Regions from separate parts of the Homo sapiens genome. Here region 1 is linked to region 2. The links are contacts of gene promoters, found by promoter capture Hi-C in blood cells and fetal thymus (Javierre and others, 2016). All regions are on one chromosome and are shown on one strand. The core of a region is centred on a gene start or on the middle of the fragment in contact, and the rest is flanking DNA. Distances in the headings are between cores, read along the strand shown. Region 1 overlaps SCFD2 (sec1 family domain containing 2). Region 2 holds the start of GSX2 (GS homeobox 2).

Region 1 (3,671 bases), core at 44-2,543, 1.1 Mb after region 2:
GTCTGTTTTTCTCCGGGACCCAACACATGCTCAGCACCTCAGGCTTAATAAAGATGAGTTAACTCAAATTAGTTAATTTAATTCCAAGTTGCTCTCTCATATAGCATCTCTGTATGGGACTTCAAAATACCAGATATTTTTTAGTTGACCCTTTTTATTTTATACTGAAGCCTTTTCATAAGATGGGAGGACTATAAAATCCCTCCCCTGCACGGAATCCAAGCAATAATACCTTTCCTTCAGTGGTAAACATGTGAAGCTTCTTGGAATTTAAAAAACTATTTTTTAATAAGGAGATATACAGTCTGGGATCTGCCCTTGAGCCTGATTTCTCATCTATAAATGAGGAGATGGGCCTAATGATCTCAGAGGACGTTCCAGCAAAAGTTATTCTCAGAAGCCATATAATAAATGTTATAAAACTACCTTATTACTGCCAACATTTCACATAATATTAAGATTTTGAAGAGTACTCATGAGTAGTTTTGACAGAAATTGTAGAGACTATCTCCCCACCAACCTCTAGAACATAACAGCTAAATGATTTTCGTTGACTAATTGAATGAATGAGGAAAAAAAGCCACATGGCAAAATCCCAAGTAATAAAAAAGGAAATATTCTCACAGTTGAAGGAATTTTCAAGAAGGAAAGGGAGAATTGTCTGCAAGGGTACAAGGTGACATTTATAGTGAAAGGAATTATTTAAGTTCTTCCATTATTTATTTACACAGGAAAGGGCCCATGAATTTACAGTGAAAAACTCTTCTAATAAGGGAATTAAGGCTATGAAACTAACATAGCTGTATTTACCAGTACTTGATAAATGTCATCAGCTAATGATTTGATGAGATATCTTTGTAACATTTAGTCACAAGGAGTCCTGGGAAAGTACTGTAGGTGTAAAGGAAGAATGGCCTATTCTAAGCAGATTTTGTTTCCTTGTCTCTATTAGATGGCTGTTTTTCTGGAGCTTCTAACAGTTTTCAAACACAGAGTGCAAATGTGTTTGTTGTCAGTGAGGCCGCCATTTGGAGTTGGTGCAGGAGCTCTGCAGCTCCTTTTCTATGTAACAGTGGAAGTGTGGTGGAGTTCAGTCTAGCTAGGGCCCCTTCCTGTCATAAATAAGATTACTTTCATTTCACTTGTGGAGTGTGCTATTCCTCAGAGTAATGAATTTCCTCTGTGCCTTTGAGCATATAAACATGGTTTTCATTAGCTTTCTCTCTCTTAAAAAAAAACACACACACACACACACACACAGAAAGGAGGGGAGAGGGAGAGGGAGGTAAAAGAAAGAATCTGAGCAAAATTAATAAGATGTCAATTAACTCCATAAATGCAGATGCCTTTTTTGCCGACTGGCTAGAACATGCTGATGAGCAGTACCAGAAAAGCACTGGTTCATCTCTCCTGAAATGCTAAGAAAATGAAATGGGGTAGAGAAAGGTAAAAATTTTATCCTACATGAACAAAGGAATGAAAGAAAAATAAAGAGAGAAAAGAATATTCTTTTTTGAATCTTGCTGTTAGGAGAACTATTTCAAACAGGCCATGAGAGTGGCCCCTCGGACCAAATAGCCAGCCCTGGGTTCTTCTGGAATTATGGGCACTTCACAGAGGACCAACCTATTTGACCAGGATCACAGTGCAGCCTCTGCCTCCACTTCCCTGCCTTTTGTGTGTGTGTGTGTGTGTGTGAGAGAGAGAGAGAGAGAGAGAAAGAGAGAGAGAGATTTTATGCTAATAAGGTATCCCAGCCTTTCCCTATTTCAAATTTACCCCTCTGTGACTTGTAAGCCATGCAATTCGTAGGGCTAAATATGCAGTTGTTCGATTTCACGGTTTGGAATCTCTTGTCAAGGGGTGAGTCATTATAACACGGCTGGGCTTTTCTCATTGTTGATGGTGCATACTTGAACCTGAAAACTATTTAGGATCCATTGACCCTTTGACTTCTGCCAGGATCTTTCTTGCTGTTGTTTTTGGAAATTTGTGGGGCAGGGAGTAGGGGGATGGAGTCCTCTCAAATTAACCCATAGAAGGAGTTAAGCTATTAAAAAAAAAAAAAAAAAAGCCTAAAACCTGGTTTTTCAAAATTACTTATTCTCAATGAAAAATCCCCAGATTTGTGTTCCCAGAACCTTTTCCTCTCCCCACAATCAATGTCGGTTTCAGCCTCCAATTCATAGTATATTATGTACTTGTTTATCCTCTAGAGAGGAAGAAATAATAATGTTATGAAGGCATCAAGGAATTAAATTCCAGGCCACAGGTTGTCACTGACAATTCACTGCAGACCAAACTTGTAACCCAGATAAAGAAGCTTGAAGCGTTTCACAGTGAGGTGTCTTCCAGCTTTGACCTCCTGGATAGGTGTTCTTGTTACAGTTTAGAAGTGCAGCTGGTTTCTATTTGAAATGAGAAGAATGGAGTTATTTAAGGAGCCAGTGCCTCTCATAGGTGAAATCGGCTTTGCTGAAATGTACACAACACACTACAAGGAACCTTAAAAACAAACTTCCATTTCACTTAGCTGCAGCACAGGAAATTGTTTCTGGCTTGTTTTTGTTGTGAACAGAGAGAACACTGCATATTAGAAATTCCCTGTAGTTGTTTAATATTTGCTCAGTAGTGTCCTGGTTCCTAATCAAGTCCTTCTTCTCACTAAATCCTGTCAACTCTGTCACTGTTTTGATTGGAAGCATGAATTGTAACACTGAAAAATCTCTCAGGACAGTAAACCTCTGCAGCTGTGGAAGGCTGGAGCTATTTACTGGTATTATTAAAGGAACCTGAATGACTTCTTTGGGGGGGAAAAAAAAGCAAAGATGCAGTGAAATTCATAAGGTGCACAGAGATTTAGGATGAAGGTTTTATTATGAGCACAGCCTCATAATACTATCCTCATAGAAAGAATACAGAATAGTAACAATTGTTTCATGAGTTGGCAAACATAATATTCTGATGTCTGCCTTTTTTAGGGGGAAAATAAAGTCCAAATGTAAAATATGAAATCAGACATAGCTAGTGCTTTGGAACAGTGTTTGAACTGGATGCTTTTTCAAGGTACGCTATAGAAACAAATGTCACCTTTATTTCCTGAAGGCATTTTGAAGAGTTTGCCGTTGGTCTTTTAAGGCATGAATTTTCTGGAACAAAAGAGGTGCAGAAATTTTAAATTGTCACCATTCTAAGGACATAACTGATTACACTACCTGCTGCTATGTATTTGGGATCTGAGGAACGTCCTGAGAGTGTAAAGACATATGTTGGAGAGGCTGGACCGCGCCCCCCAGCCCGGCCCCAAAATGGGAAAAGAAGCAAAAGGAATGAAAACTTTCACTTGAGAGAGGTGACCAATACCATACCTAAGATGTTTCTCTTCCAAAATGTTTCTTTGTTCACTTATTCATCCTTTATTCAATGATTTATTCGTTTCAGAAAAGTTTATTGAGTATCTACTGTGAGCCCAGAACTGTGCCAGGTACTGGGAGGTCTAGTTTAAAGGCAGCTTGCCCACAAGGACAGGGATTTCCGCCAAGAATGTTCTGTCCTCATTGCTATAGTGTAAGAAGCAGCTGGATTCCCAAGTCAGCCTTGACATTCAGCAGAACTTAGCGTGTCTGCCTCTAAAAGCACAAACCTGTTTGCTAGACTGTTCTTGTCATTGC
Region 2 (3,807 bases), core at 163-2,662:
CCGGCGAAGAGAGGGTAGAGAGGTAAGGCTCGGGCAAGGTGCTCCCACCCCATGTGCTAACCAGGACGCATTTCAGGGACCCACCCGGGGAAGCCCAGCCGAACATCTGTATCCCTTTCCCATTTCAAGGCACGTGGTTGCTTAGCGGGGAAGAAAAGAGACGTGCAAAGCAAATAAAGGTCTTCGATGCGCAGGATGCGAAGTCACAGGATTAAAGAGGGATGGGGGCTTGCACTATCTGATCGCCTCCCTTTGAGCCAAGCGGAGAAGCGCGCAGGCTTAGCCAAAAACGTCAAGACGCTTTAGCCGCCCCGACGCGGGGATGCCACACAGGTTCAAACACACCCACCCCAAATCCCAAGCAGTTAACCTCTGGTTTATCCGCCGTGACGTTCGAGGTCCCTAAGGCCCCAGTATTAATAAGGCAATACTCGAGCACCTACTACTAGGAGTAAAACGCACCAGGCTGAGTGGAGAAGCTGGCAAACTAACTTCCACTTTCGTGGAACTTCTGTGGCTGACTCTACGGTTACACTAAAAGCCCGTCCTCTCTCTTCACCCTGTCCCCGGGCTCCCACTTCCTCCACTGGAGGTGGAAAGTTTGCTCCAGGAGCGCGAAAGGCGCGGAGCGCAGGTGCCCCAAGACCCCGCCCTACCCATGGTGAGGCAGTGGAATCTCCGCGGGTCCGCCACGTTGTAGGTGGTGGCGGTGCAGACAGGTGCGTGGTGCTGCGGGTGCCCCAAGGCCGCCGCGGCCGCCGCCGCCGCTGCTGCTGCTGCCGCCGCCGCGGCCGAGCCAGGCTGCTGGGGCTGATGATGGTGATGGTGGTGCTGCGGCGGGTGGTGGTGATGATGCGCATGGTTCACCCGCGGGCAAAACTGCGCGTCCCCAGGAGCCGAAGAGAACTGGCCCTTAAGCAGAGGCAGTGCCCCTGCGGCCCCTGCCACCCCACTGCCTCCGGCCCCGGTAACCCCGGCCCCTGCGCCCCCGCTGCCGGCGCCCACAGACCCCCGAGAGGAGTGCAGGTGCGAAGTGACGCAGAGAGGGCACACGCAGAACGCGCCGCTCTTGCGGGACGGGCAGCCGGGGCCGGACACGGACATCACCAATGGGGGCGGCATGCCAAGCGGGATGAAGAAATCCGGCCCGGGGTGCGGTTCAGGCAGCGAGGGCGCAGGCCGTGAGGTGTCCTTGATGATGAGCGAGTCGACATAGAAGGAGCGCGACATGTCGAGAGGGGTGGGTGGCTGGAAGCCCCGGCAGTTCGCGGCGACCCCTCTCCTCTAGTGTTCTAAGCTCTGCCCTGGGAGCCGCGCAGACACGGGCAGTCAAGCCCTTGGGGACGCAGAGGTGTTGGCGTCTGGGCTGGGAACAAAGGGGTCCCCGGAGAGGGCTGGTCCTCACGTCCCCCGCCCGGCGCCCCGGCTCGGGTATTTTATAGCCCCCCACCCTGGCACGTGATGCTGCGGAGTACCGCTCGGCTCAGGCTCCTCGGCAGCTCCGCACCCTCGGGATAGGCTGCCCGAGTCACAACAGAAGCCGCGAGGAGGGGCGGGCGCGCGGCGGGGAAGAACTCGGGGGAGGGGGATGGGGGAGACTTTGCAAAGTGTAGGTTTTGTTAATTTCCCGGGGAGGCCGGCCTCCTCCCCCTCTTTCTCCACGCTTTACTGAGAAATCACAGCGCTGCATCCTCCATCCCACCCCCTCTCGCTACCCTGGCCGCAGCCCAACTCTTCCCCACGCCCCACCGCAAAGCGTACCAGGTGGGGACTTGGAGGCTTATTTAATAGGAATGCTCAGTGTTTCCAGCTCCTCTGTGGTAGGGGTGGCTGCGGCGCGGTGAAGTGTGAGGCCTGCGGTTTGGAGCAGGATTGTGCGGGCGACGGACTGGCAGTCGTCCAGTCCCTGAGCGCAGCTCTGGCCACGGTTACACCTACCCCTGTCCACAGCTTTTGGACTTGGCAGAGGTCATTCAGGTGGTTAGTTCAGGACTGTCCGGCGCAGAACTGTGAGGCCTCCCAGCTAAGAAACCGTCAAGCTTTTCATGCTGATGTTCGACAAGGTCTGAAGTGTCTTTGTACTTGGGGCCCTCCTGGGGCCACTCAGACCAACGACCCTTCCTTGTTTCCCTTTCTGATCGGCACCTCCCACTTCCGCAGAGAGAGAGAGATGTTGAAGAGTCACCCTTTTCTTTCTCCAAGTAGTAACACCATGGCATTCCAGGGCAATCCTACAAACTCCATCCTGAAGATTTTGGAGGGAGGACCTCAAACACCAAGCCCTCCTAAAGACGCAGCAGGGATTAGATAGACCTTCGCTCTGGGTCTGAGGATTTCCTGTCCCTCATTTTTACCAATCATGGGCAGCTTAGCAAGGCTAACCAGGAAGCACTCTTTCCTCTGCATCTTAAGAACCTAAAAAGGATGAAGAGGATTCAGCCATCCAGGGAATCTTGCCTCTGATTGGCAGAAGTGGCTTTGTAAGGGAACTCTCTCTGGTCCATGGAAGTCTTGCACACCCCTTACTGCCCGAGAGAGGGTGGCTGCCAAACTATTGGGACTATTTATCTTCGGAGAAGGCAAGGCAGCAGAGGTGGCCATTTTCTCTCTTCATTTCCCCCTGCAGAAAAGCGGGCTGGGGCCATGTGGTTGGGCAATAGTTAGAAGTCTGATCCTTTTTCCAGAGCAGCTAACTTCAATCCTGAGTTCATGATGGTGCTAAGAAACTTAGAGACAGGACTCCCTCCACCTGAGAGAACAAGGTGCCCAAATCCAGGAGAGCACTAGCTAGAGGCACGGCTCTATCTTTCCATCCTCTGTCTTCCCCTCTCCATCTCTGTGACAGTCTCTCTTGCCTGCTAGAGAAGTGTAATTGGGTTGTAGGGATGCCCGGCTCTGGGGAGCCCAGGATTTATGGATGGCAATTAAAGTTTTATGAATTGCAGCTGAGGCTGGTTATTGAGCTATTTGAATGTGATTAGAATTCAATTAGAAAGCGGTTAGTGGACGGTGGGTCTCTGGAGTGTAAACAGACAGCTATTCCAGAAATGTGCTAATCCAACATCTTGTGACAACAATTAAGGAGTCTCAGGGCTTAACATGGGGCAGCTCAGCTGTAACTACTTTTGTACCACAAGGTCTGCAGACGCTCAGGCTCACCCCAGCCCGCCCTTGTTCATGACTGGAGGATCTAGGCAATCCCCGAAATCATTTCAGCCCCAAGAAGAAGGCTTGGAGCCACTGATGGAGAATGGCAATAAAAAACATACCCTGCTGAATGGCAGGATATTTTTTACAGTCCTAAACTGTCCAAATAGATGACTCGATTCCCCCCATTCACTTTGCAACTATACAAGCATATATAGATATAGATACAGATACTCTTTAAGAATAATAGCTTTCTCTCTTTTCCTCCTCTGGGTTAGGTCCCAGGTTATCCACAGTCTGTTTTGGGCTGATGGTTTGAGTCACAATGTTCCCAGCAGTTTGGGATGTGTTCAGAGGAAGAGCTCCTATGCTAAAGTCCTAGAAATCGCACCCATGTGCAGACCATTTTACCTTAGAGAATCTTAACTATGCAAGAGGCTTGTGCATCTTATTCAATTTGTGTCTGACTGTGGAAACTTTCATTTTTCAGTGCCAAGGAGTTTTGAGAAATGTGAGGGGCTCATGGGGTTTCCTAAAGACTTCAAGGGGAGCAGTGGTTTCAGACCAGGCTGAGGCTGAAAGCAAGACCATGTCTGAAAAACTTGACCCTTAGGGTACTTGGTTAATTCCTTCAGCCCACCAAGAGCAAGTATACTGGAA

What was found. The method cuts DNA at HindIII sites, captures the fragments that hold promoters and counts their contacts. A CHiCAGO score of 5 or more calls a contact.
Region 1: a fragment that was not itself captured here is called in contact with the fragment with the promoter of GSX2 in region 2 in 1 of 17 cell types (fetal thymus); the score reaches 7.0 in fetal thymus.

Annotation. Positions count from the first base shown.
Region 1 is chr4:53,010,404-53,014,074 of GRCh38, reverse strand. All of the region lies in intron 5 of SCFD2 (sec1 family domain containing 2), which reads left to right. Among named protein-coding and RNA genes, the nearest start is that of SCFD2-AS1, 85 kb to the right of the region's middle. The HindIII fragment of the contact is 2,064 bases long and covers 262-2,325 here.
Region 2 is chr4:54,097,768-54,101,574 of GRCh38, reverse strand. GSX2 (GS homeobox 2) reads right to left here and starts at 1,412. Exons shown (of 2, transcript NM_133267.3): 1 at 657-1,412. The coding sequence starts at 1,230. RefSeq lists enhancers at 1-777, 778-1,568. The HindIII fragment of the contact is 4,571 bases long and covers 1-2,041 here.